Regions from separate parts of the Homo sapiens genome. Here all the other regions are linked to region 4. The links are contacts of gene promoters, found by promoter capture Hi-C in human tissues and cell types (Jung and others, 2019). All regions are on one chromosome and are shown on one strand. The core of a region is centred on a gene start or on the middle of the fragment in contact, and the rest is flanking DNA. Distances in the headings are between cores, read along the strand shown.

What was found. Contacts are between HindIII fragments. The study calls those that stand out against the background at their distance.
Region 1: a fragment that was not itself captured here is called in contact with the fragment with the promoter of ALDH1L2 in region 4 in 2 of the 25 tissues and cell types used here (bladder and lymphoblastoid cells).
Region 2: a contact is called between a fragment that was not itself captured here and the fragment with the promoter of ALDH1L2 in region 4, in 2 of the 25 tissues and cell types used here (lymphoblastoid cells and mesenchymal stem cells).
Region 3: a contact is called between a fragment that was not itself captured here and the fragment with the promoter of ALDH1L2 in region 4, in 1 of the 25 tissues and cell types used here (lymphoblastoid cells).

What each region holds. Positions count from the first base shown.
Region 1 is chr12:104,458,168-104,461,005 of GRCh38, forward strand. The region is part of intron 1 of CHST11 (carbohydrate sulfotransferase 11); the gene reads left to right. Among named protein-coding and RNA genes, the nearest start is that of CHST11, 2.6 kb to the left of the region's middle. RefSeq lists silencers at 1-99, 260-319. The HindIII fragment of the contact is 4,193 bases long and covers 1-2,838 here.
Region 2 is chr12:104,126,585-104,129,306 of GRCh38, forward strand. NFYB (nuclear transcription factor Y subunit beta) reads right to left here. Exons shown (of 8, transcript NM_006166.4): 3 at 1,840-1,933. Among named protein-coding and RNA genes, the nearest start is that of NFYB, 10 kb to the right of the region's middle. The HindIII fragment of the contact is 6,155 bases long and covers 1-2,722 here.
Region 3 is chr12:104,440,683-104,443,503 of GRCh38, forward strand. No RefSeq gene overlaps it. Among named protein-coding and RNA genes, the nearest start is that of CHST11, 15 kb to the right of the region's middle. The HindIII fragment of the contact is 4,879 bases long and covers 1-2,821 here.
Region 4 is chr12:105,083,171-105,085,870 of GRCh38, forward strand. ALDH1L2 (aldehyde dehydrogenase 1 family member L2) reads right to left here and starts at 1,288. Exons shown (of 23, transcript NM_001034173.4): 1 at 1,219-1,288. The coding sequence starts at 1,266. RefSeq lists enhancers at 131-931, 426-665 and a silencer at 1,166-1,595. The HindIII fragment of the contact is 4,053 bases long and covers 1-2,700 here.

The DNA.
Region 1 (2,838 bases), core at 339-2,838, 620 kb before region 4:
GTTTGCCCCCGGGGTCCGGCTCCGCAGTGACCTTGCGGCTGGTGCCCCGGGGCCTGCTCCAGCCCCCAGCCCTGAGCTGGAAACTCCGAGCTCCTGGGTCACGCCTTGACCACTGCAGTTTTGGAGGAAACTTTGGCCAGGTCCTGGGCTGACCGTCCGTTTGCATCCCCCACTTCTGGGATCCGAGCAACGGGAATCCCCCGGGCGGCGTGGGAATGAACCCCATTCCTCCGGTCCCTTGTGGCTCAGGCAAAGTTCCACGTCCGAAATCTGGACTGGGGGAGGGACGAGGCTCGTCGCTTCCTAGGGGTGCGAGGGAAAGTTTGGGTTCTGGAGAGGGAGGGGCGCCCTCGAGCGCGGCGGCCGGGGGTGAGCAGCTCGGCTGCGAAGCCCAACAGGTAGAACGTTCCGAGAAGCCTTCCGGGTAACGCGGGTCTCCCCGCCAAGCCGTGGCTCCCCTGCTCCCTTTTACCCTCCCTTAGCAGCCCCCTGCCGGGCCACGTTGGCTCAGAAATCCATTTTCTACGCCTCCGAGTTGCCTTTCTCAGCGTAGTCACAGCAATAATTTGCTTTTCTAATTGCAAGGAGGAGGGAGGTGGAAACGCATTTCCTTCCAGGGAAGTGGGGTTGGTGTTTTTCATTTTTGCCTCCCGCCTTCTCCTTTCACTGTGTATCTAACACTTTAAACAGACGCAGTCCCGAATTCATCAAGCCTGCGTTTGGGTCGATGGCAGAGGAATAAAGCTGTTCTTTCCATCAAACAGGCAGGGCTGCAGGCTGCAGATTCCTTGACAGCGCAGGGACAGACGGCCCCTTTGCCCCACTCGGTCTGGAGCAGTTGTTAAGGCAGCCACACTGCCAAGGATATGGTCCGACTCTACCACATGTAACCTCAGGACGTCCGAGCCAGCCCTGTTAAAGATGGCTTTTGTTTGCAGCTGGGTATTTTTAGTTTAATGTCAGCAAACTACAGCGGTGTTTGTCTCCTCACCCAAACCTGCGGTTGTGAAACTTATAAAGGAATTTAAAAATGGACCTGGCTTGCATTCCGGCAGGCAGGCCTTGGTTGCAGTGGGCAGGGCCAGACAGCCAGGGGTATCTCAGAGTGCCAAGCTCCAGGGCCCACCGGAGACCGGGCCAGACTCACCCCAGAGCGCCAGGGGACTGGTGGTGTACAGATACACTCGGGTTCAAACAGTTTAAACAAGGGGCCGGTGATTTGGTCTAGACTCTAGAGCTGTGTTCAGGTTTCGCTGGGACCGTGAATGCCAGTAATGCTCTGTACGAATGCCCAGAACACGGATGAGTGTCAGCCTTCAGCAGGAATGCGCTTGAGCTTCTGTGTACCTGTTAATTGCCCAGGGAAATACAATTGTCATGGAATTCTTTGTGAGAATTGGGAAATAACTTTCTAGCCAAAGATACTAGAAAGAAACTTCCAACTTGTAATTGTCACTTTGTGAAAATTTCCAGCCCTTGTTAGTCTTAAGTTGACTTGAAAGTGACATCATATCTTTTCAGCCTAGCCTTTTGGAAGAGGCAGAGAACCTTTTCTAAGCTTGTGCTGAAAAAGATCCTCTGTCGATGATCCTGCCCCATCCTTTATGTCCCCCTCTAGTCCTATTTTCTCCCATTGTTTATTATTTAGATCTCTATAAATATACTTTTCTGATATTTCCCTCCAGTCCATAGCAAATACTACTTTCAAAACATTGTGTTGAATGTAGAATTACAGATAGTTCAGTTGAAAGGCCTTCCTTATTTCAGATTACTTACAGTCCACAAAAGCTCTGTGTCAACAGTTTATCATTACACGGGGCATAAAAATATACTTTCAAATCTACATTAAACATTTTCTTTTTGAGGGGTTCATTTTATTAAGCTACACTGTTAATGACCACTGATGTGGAATCTCTTTCACTGGTTTGAATTTCTTTAAAAGTTAAAGATCCTTGCTTCTCTGAAGTATCTTGGGGGTAAGGAGAGCTGATCCTTCAGCCTGGCTCTGCAGTTTCTGTCTCTCCAGATCACCCTGGGAGAGGCAGAAGGGACCACAGCATGGCACGGATTGTGTAGCTAAAAATTTGGAGGCCTCTGGCAGGGGTTCCAGATACCTACATGTGAAATAGAAAAATAGTATTGCAAAAGCAATGGGTTCCAGGCTTCGTTGGTGGCTGGAGGGTATGAGAGGAGGGAGAGAAAGAAAAAAAGGAAGGCAGGGCGCGGTGGCTCATACCTGGAATCCCAGCACCTTGGGAGGCTGAGGCGGGTGCATCACTTGAGCTCAGGAGTTCGAGACCAGCCTGGCCAACATGGCGAAACCACATCTCTACTAAAAATACAAAAATTAGCTGGGTGTGGTGGCACACGCCTGTAATCCCAGGAACTCCGGAGGCTGAGGCATGAGAATAGCATGAACCCAGGAGGCAGAGGTTGCTGTGAGCTAAGATGGCACCACTGCACTCCAGCCTGGGCGACAGAGTGAAACTGTGTCTCAAAAAAAAAAAAAAAAAAGAGACAAAAAGGAGACAGCTGGCAAGGCTGGCTGTCCCTCTCTCTGATTCTAATCTGGGGCCCATTATCTTTTCTAATTCATAGAATTGATTAATTTGCAAATTTGAGTAATTGGTCATCAGTTGCACAAGGGTTTAGCAGAAGTGGGCCTTGTCAGTAGGATAGTTACATTTAGAAGTTTTTGATACTCTGAGTTAATAGTCTTCCTTAAGAATATTTTATAGGGCAAGGACCAGGTTTTAGACTCCATTTTAATCCCGATGTTTTTTGCACGGTGTCTGACAACAGTGGGTTCTCAATAGAATGTTTGCTGGATGAATGCAT
Region 2 (2,722 bases), core at 154-2,653, 960 kb before region 4:
TACACATTTTTAGAATTTTTATTATTCCTCATTTCTCCTATTAGATTTTTGCTACTTAATGTCACGAATCAGCTTTGTGTTTCCTACAGCTTGGTACAGCACCTTCCACAGAGTAGGTACTCATAAATATTTATTATACGACTTAGCTATAAAACTTACAGACCGTAACCTATGGCTCCTTCAATACTGCTAGATTAAGAGGTTGTATGTTTCTCCAAACCCAAGTTTATATAAACTCATTTATGTAAAAGTCTATATAAAACTTTTAAAGTTGATATAAAGTTGTCTTGTCTGTATAAAGTTTATATAAAATTCTTTAAAGAATGGAAAAACTGGACTTGATTATTACTGATCCAGTTGGCTTACTAATGTAACTAGTTTTTGAACAAAGCTAGAGCAGTGATCCAACTGTTCATACAAAAAGGGACTTTTCAAATTATATAAATTTAGCTATAACTGAAGCTTGCGCAGTACCAATAACATCCTTTTATGACTAAATGCAGTATCCTGTAAGTAAACTGCCCACTCTTCATATGTACTAAGTAAGGAGGCAAGGCACTTAAGTTGATTCAATTTACGTTTTTATGTGTTTAAAATGATGTTATCAGAATTAATTTATTTGAATATCCGTTTCAGGATGAAATTAATCCCTCTGGCAAGTTTCTTCTAAAAATATATCTCAATTTTTAAAAATTTTACAAATCAGGCCAGGCGTGGTGGCTCATGACTATAATCCCAGCACTTTGGGAGGCTGAAGCAGGCAGATCATCTGAGGTCACGAGTTTGAGACCAGCCTGACCAACACAGCGAAACCCTGTCTCTACTAAAAAAAAATTAGCTGGGCATGGTGCTGGGCGCCTGTGATCTCAGCTAACGGGCAGGCTGAGGCAGGAGAATTGCTTGAACCCAGGAGGCGGAGGTTGCAGTGAGCCAAGATTGTGCCACTGCACTCCAGCCTGGGCGACAGAGCAAGACTCCATCTCAAAAAAAATAAAAAATAAAAAAAAAAAAAAAATTTTTTTTACAAACCAAAATGCCACAAAAGTAAATTATTTCTGATAGGCCAACATAACACTGCCTTTTTTTTTTTTTTTTTTTTTGGAGACAGGGTCTCACTTTGCACTTTGTCACCCAGGCTGGAGTGTGCAGTGGTGCAAACATGGCTCACTGAAGCCTCTACCTCCCAGATTCAAGCAATCCTCCCACCTCAGCCCCCAGCCCCCTAAGTAGCTGGGACTACAGGTACATGCCACCAAGCACAGCTAATTTTTTAATTTTTTTGTAGAGGTGGGGTTTCACCATGTTGCCCAGGCTGGTCTCGAACTCCTGAGCTCAAGTGATCTGCCCACCTTGCCCTCCCAAACTGCTGGGATTATAGGTGTGAGCACCACACTGAGCCAACACTACCATTCTAATACCTGACATAGTTCAAAGTTAATATTGAATGAAAACCAAAAATAAATCATAAGTGCAAGAAATATAATAGCTAGAAATTTAACTCACCCTCTAAATAATTATTTTAGTTACCCTATCAATTGATTATAAATTTCTTATTTAACATTTAAACAGGAAGTCGATAACAAATTTTAAAAGAAACTGTACAGATTTTAGACAAGGTGTATTTTTATAGTAAAAGTCTTTTCAAGGACTCATTCTTTTGAAGACTATTTCTAATAAAAATAGCATGGTACGCCTTTTTAGACTTTCTCATTGAACCGTAACACAAGATTGTAAATTTTCCTATAAAGACACAAGTAGCCTAGAACACCATATTAATGAAATGTCCACTTTCTAACTTGCTTCAACTTGAGAATTTGGTTCTAATTGTGGCTTGCTTACCATCATGAGGCTGTATAACATAATGACTTCCTCCAATATAGTCTGCAGAGATTCCTAGTTGAGAAGCATCTGTTGTAGAACTGTCACCATCCATCTATGAGGAGAAAAACAGTTTTTCAATACTTTTCAAAGTACTAACAAACGTAACAGATTCAACACTTATAAACTGTCACAGGATGATGCATCAATTATACTTTTCATAGCCTTAAGCTTACTAAAAGAGAATTTATATTTCTTTTTTAAAAAATTAATTATTTTTTTGAGACAGGGTCTTACTCTGTGGCCCAGGCTGGAGTGCAGTGGCGTGATCACAGCTCACTGCAGAATCCACCTCCCAGGCTGAAGCAATCCTCCCACCTCAGCCTCCTGAGTAGCTGGACTACAGGCATGCACCACCATGCCTGGCCAATTTTTTTGTATTTTTAGCAGAGACAGGGTTTTGCTATGTTGCCCAGGCTGGTCTGGAACTCCTGGGCTCAAACAAACCACCTACCTCAGCCTCCCAAAATGCTGAGATTACAGGCATCAGCCACCGCAACCAGCCTATATTTCTTGATTTGGAAACTTTCCCACAATTTGTCCACGATTCAAGATTTCCCTATCCATCTTCCATAAGTGATATAAGCATAAGGCCAATAGCGACAAGGAAATGAATCTAAAGCATATGCCTCTTTCTTTTTAAGTGCATAATCTTCAAATATAGTACCACAGGCAACCCTGACTTACAACCTAATTTATCCCTGGAATGATGATCAGCTTAGTAAAGCTGTACACAGTGTCATGTACCTGTAGCCCCAACTGCTCAGAAGCTGAAGCAGGAGGACTGCTTGAGCTCAAGAGTTCCAGACCAGCCTGGTCAATGTAGTGAGAACCTGTCTCTTAA
Region 3 (2,821 bases), core at 183-2,682, 640 kb before region 4:
TTTCGTGAACAGATTGCCCTGTCACCTGCTGAGTGGGGAGGGTAGAGGTGGACACATGGGAATAGTGAGAAAGTGACATTTTACAATAACAATGACACAGGGCTTGAGTGTTTGTTCACATTACACCTAGAAGTATCCAAAAATGTAGTGAATGGTAAGAAGGAGAGAAATCAACATTTAGTCCAATAAGTAATATACACAACCTCTGGAAGGGACGTGCCTGTCAGCTGCACACTCAGTGGTTCAGATTCCATGCCACTCCTGCTTCTCTGCAAGAGTCAGCTGGGTGTATAGAAGAGAACTCAAGGGACATCTTGGAGGCAGGGGAAGAAAGGCCTGAGTCGGGGATCCCCACAACCACCCTCAGCTCCAAAGACTTGCTAGGAGGACTCATGGGACTCAGCATATAGTCACAGTCATGGCTATGATTTATTATAGTGAACAGGTGCAAAATAAAATGAGTGAAAGAAGGAGACACATGGGGCAAAGCTGGAGGAGACAAGATGCAAAATTCCAAGAAGTCACACAGGGTATACTTAGTTTATTTAGAAAGAATTGTGACAACCTATGTGGAATGCTGTCTACCAGGGAAGTGCCACTAAGCCTAGGAGTCAGTCCAAGGATTTTACTGAGGGTCAGTCACATAAGCATCTGTGGCCTAGGATGTACCAAAAGTCCGGGCTTCCAGAAGGAAGGCAGGTGTTCAGCATAAACCACATTTTTGTACAAAGAGTTCAGGCGCAGCGAACTGCTCCTGTCCTTTCTGGGAGTGCTGGGAACCCACCCCAAATCCAATGTAGATGCCAGCCAAGGGCCAACCTTGCAAGCAGTCTCAAACTGACTATGTTAACTCTTTTCTGCCAGAGGCCTCAGAGCCACATGTATCTCCCTCATCCCTGGACTGGAGGCCATTGAGTCACAGTAGGTTCTAGGTCCTGCTGGAGACCATTTGCTCTCTGAAGCCCTGTACATCCTGGGCAGGCCATGGAAAGCCAGGAGGGTTGTGGCAGGCCATCTAGCCAGACAGGCACTTCCCTCCACCAATGCTGCCACCCTGGGCTGGATGTGACCACATGGGGACTTCTTTGCCATGCTCTCCCCTCCACTGGTACACATGGGGAAGTCTAGCATGACCTCCTCACTGTCTAGTAACCTAAGTGCCCCTTGGGTCCTATTATCCATCTGTGTTTGTCCCAAAGTGGCGGATGGGAAGAGGGAACAAGAACGCTGGCATTTGAACTGCTCACTCTGCCTCTTTGTCTTTTCTCCTGCCCATAGAACACTGAGGTGGGAATACATGGCTTCCCATGTCTCTAAAACCACATCATATCTGCAGTAAAACTGGCACCTGGGCAGCCAGTTTTAGCTGTTGTTAATGTGTTAACACATTATATGACCTAATGGCCACATAACAGGACCTTGGAGAGTATAGAAAATCCTTTTATCTCTTGGCAAATTCTGGCTTTTTATGCTACTTTTTTTTTTTTTTTTGGAGACAGAGTCTTGCTCTGTCACCCACGTTGGAGTGCAGTGGCATGATCTGAGCTCACCACAACCTCTGCCTCCAGGGTTCAGGCGATTCTCCTGCCTCAGCCTCCCGAGTAGCTGGGATCATAGGCGTGCACCACCACGCCCAGCTAAATTTTTTTTATTTTTTTTGTATTTTTAGTAGACACAGGGTTTCACTATGTTGGCCAAGCTGGGCTCAAACTCCTGACCTCAGTTGATCCACCTGCCTCGGCCTCCCAAAGTGCTGGGATTACAGGTATGAGCCACTGTGCACAGCCTCATGCTACTTTAATATCCAAATCTGATGAATGACCTTTTTGCTCTAGATGGAGCCTTCCTTACTCTGGAGAAAGAAGCCTCATAGATTAGGGTTGGTGTGAATGACTGCAAAGGTGAGTGAAATTTCATATCCCCCAGTTTCATTCCATGATTTTCATTCTAGAAATGATAGTTTGCATTTGTAAACGTGTTTTCATGACCTTTTGGTCATGATAACTCAGAGATTGAGGTAGACATGTCCATTATACAGACAAAACTACTGAGTCAAAGAGGGCTAGTTAATGGTGGAGTTTAGACTTGAATTTATATCTTCACACTTGACTCTACTAAACTTCTTGCTACATATTATTTGTTGCTAGCATTAGATCTTTATTGTCTCTTATAATCTATGGGCAGGTGCAGATTCTGTAAGGAATATCTGTTCTTTCCCATCCACAAAAATGGCCTCCCAAATATATTCCTGTCCTAATCCATGGAACCTGTGATTATGTTACCTTGAATGGCAGAAGAGACTTTGCAGATGTGACCCAATTAAGGATTTTGAAATGGAAAGATTATCCTGGATTATCTGGGTAGACCTGATGTAATTACAAGCATTCTTGTAAGAGGGAAGCAGGAGGTGGGGTGGAGGGGAGAGAGAGAGAGAGAGAGAGAGAGAGAGGAAGAGAGGAAGAGAGGAAGTGAGGAGGAGAGGAGGAGAAGAGAAGAGGACAAGAGAAGAAGAGAAGAGAGGAAGAGAGAGAGGGGAAGAGAGAGGGGAAGAGAGAGGGGAAGAGAGAGAGGAAGAGAGAGGCTATACAGTGGCTTTGAAGATGGAGGATGGGGCCATGAGGCAAGCGATGCAAGTGACAGACCTCCAGAAGCTATAAAAAGACTAGGAAACAGACCTTTTCCCCACAGCCTCTGGAGGAGAGGCAGCCTTGCTGACACCTTGATTTTGGCCCACTGAGACTGGTTTTGTACTTTGGAACTCCAGAACTGTAAAATGACACATTTGTGTTGTTTGAAGTCACTAAGTTTGTGGTAATTTGTT
Region 4 (2,700 bases), core at 38-2,537:
TGTTGACAGAGGAGGCCAACAAAACAGGCTCAGGCATTGGGCACAGCCCGTTGCTTTCTGTGCTATCCATCTGGGATCCCATGTGCCACGTGGTGGGGGAAGCTAATGAGGGGTCCAGGAGAGCAGGCCAAAGTCCTAGCAGAGCAGGTCTTCCCCACCCCCACCCCTCGTTTTATAAAAGGTGACTATACCTCAAAGTAACTAGAACTGGTTGCAAAGAGTAAAACGAATTCTTATTATTTGGGGTTGTCTGGGATACAGAAAGCTTTTCCTTTGATGCAAGTTTGGGCCAGTTTTTGGTGCTACTCAAGACTTCTCTCTGCCTCCAAGTTTTTTACATCTGAATATATACATATGTACATATGGCTTTGGCATGGCCGAGAAAAAGAATCGATAAGCAAATTCTTTTATGTACTTCCTATAAAAGATACGATACATAAGACAGTTTTTATTTTTTTTTTTTCTCTCTCTCTCTTCCCTAAACAGTCCCGAGGCCCCCTGGGTGCTGAAGGCAGCACCGCAGTGCAACGTGTCCTCTCTCGGTTCCATTTCTGGAGGAGCTGATGCAATTCCAAGGCGCGGGGCTGGGCCAGAGCTCGGTTCTTGTGCTACAGTAGAATAGTGTTCCAGCGTGGCTGCCTCTGCAGCGCCTGGCAATTCTAGAAATTTTGCCATCTGCAGCTCAGCTCAGGAATACTGAGCTTGCAGCCATCAGCTTTGAGTGCCATTATCTGAACCGGCCCTGCGTGCCAGTCTCGAGCGCTTACACCTCCCAGGCCGCCAACGAGGACCCTATTGACTTGATACTCCCCTCCTCCAGGAGACAGTCTCGGTTCCATATGGCTCCAGCTCTTGACCAGGGATCTCATGATTGAAGTGAAAAAGGAAAGGAAGCAGACTCTGTCCTCCTTACCAAGTGACTGTTCCCACCTTGCCATCCCAGCCAGACTTGACACGTCCAAAAACTGCATCCTCAGCCCCCTCCCGGCAGAAGACAATGGCCTGCGTGCCAGTTCCCATCCGGGACCCTCCCCAAGCCCTCCTCTGAGGTCTCTCTGTTTTTGTTTGTTTGTTTGTTTGTTTTAAACGCTGTCTTGGTGTTTAGCAAAGTCTAAGCATCGCTGCTCATCCCCAGCCCCACCGCCCCGGCCCTCCCGCCCCGGAGTCTGGAAACCAGGACAGGGTGACAGCCGGGACGCTCGCCCGGGCCGGACTCACCCGGCCAGTGGAGAAGCGCCGGAGCGCCTGGCTGCCCCGCCGCAGCATGCTGGAGAGGAGCGCTAGCACTGGCGACGCGGCAGCGCGGGAGGCAGGCGGGCGGCGCAGCCTGGGCGCGGCCTGGGCGCGGCCTGCAGTCTGGATGCCCCGGACTGCCTGGCTCGCGGCTCGCCGCTCTCGGCCTCTGCTAGTCCGCACCCCTCCCAAAGCCCACAGCCCGCGGCCCGCCCCACCCTACCAGCTGCAAGGCCCCGCCCCCTAGCTGTCAAGACCCCGCCCCCAGCTGGAAGGCCCCGCCCCGCCAGCTGGCTGCGTTCGGACAGCCAACCTGGTGCGACCCGGCGGAGCGCGTGGGCTTCCTGGAGCCTGTGGGCCCTGACCCTGGTGCCAAGAGCGCACCCAGTCCCAGGGACCGCGCCTCTCCGCTGCCTGGACTTTCCGCCAATTCCAGCCAAGGTCCAGGTGCTTTCTAACTGTGGGACCCTCTACCAGTTACTCAGCCCCGCAGCAGTGTATACGGATCTACCTTATTAGTGGTCAATCTGACATCCCAAGTGCTGTCCATAGCACAGCCCGTAAAAGGCACGCCTGTAGACAGATAGGTAGTGGGGGCGCCTTCGCTGTGGAGGGATCCTGATGCCTACCTCGTAGGACGGTAGGCCGGGCGCGGTGGCTCCCGCCTGTAATCCCAGCACTTTGGGAGGCCGAGGAGGGAAGATGGCCTGAGCTCAGGAGTTCGAGACCAGCCTGGCCACCATGGTGAAACCCCGTCTCTACTAAAAATAAAAAATAATAAAATAATAAAATAATTAGCCGGGCGTGATGTCGCATGCCTGCAGTCCCAGCTACTCGGGAGGCTGAAGCACGAGGATCACTTGAGCCGGGGAGGCGGAGGTTGCAGTGGAGCTGAGATCATGCCACTGCACTTCAGCCTGGACAACAGAGCGAGACTCTGTCTTAAAAATAAATAAATAAATTGGTGCAAAAGTAATTGTGGTTTTTGCCACTGAAAATAATGGCAAACCCGCAATTACTTTTGCATCAACCTAATAGATACGTGCCCTTCTCCCTCACCTCTCTGGAAAAAACGCTCAGACCTGCTTTAGCTGGACGTTTATCTCAAGCCAGACTTCTTAGCCCAGCATTCAGGGCCGTCTGCAATTTGCCATTTTCTCTTATTTCTCACTGCTCTTTTGCATATGTAATTCTGCTTGACTGCAGTTCTTGCCTATTCCTTCTTGGACAATGTTTCCCAGAAAAGCTTGTCATCTGTCACTTGTAATTATCTTGGCACGACCGTTTCTTTTCTGAAAGGTACCGCTTACATGCTGCCTCCTGGAGGCGCTTTTTTCTGATTCTTTTCTCTCTTAGTCTCCTTATTCCCCATAAATAATTGTTCACTCCTCTTAACAGGAAATAATCTTTGTCTATGCATCTGTTATGGCTGTCTCAATCTGCTACTGGTATTTGTATACCTATTAA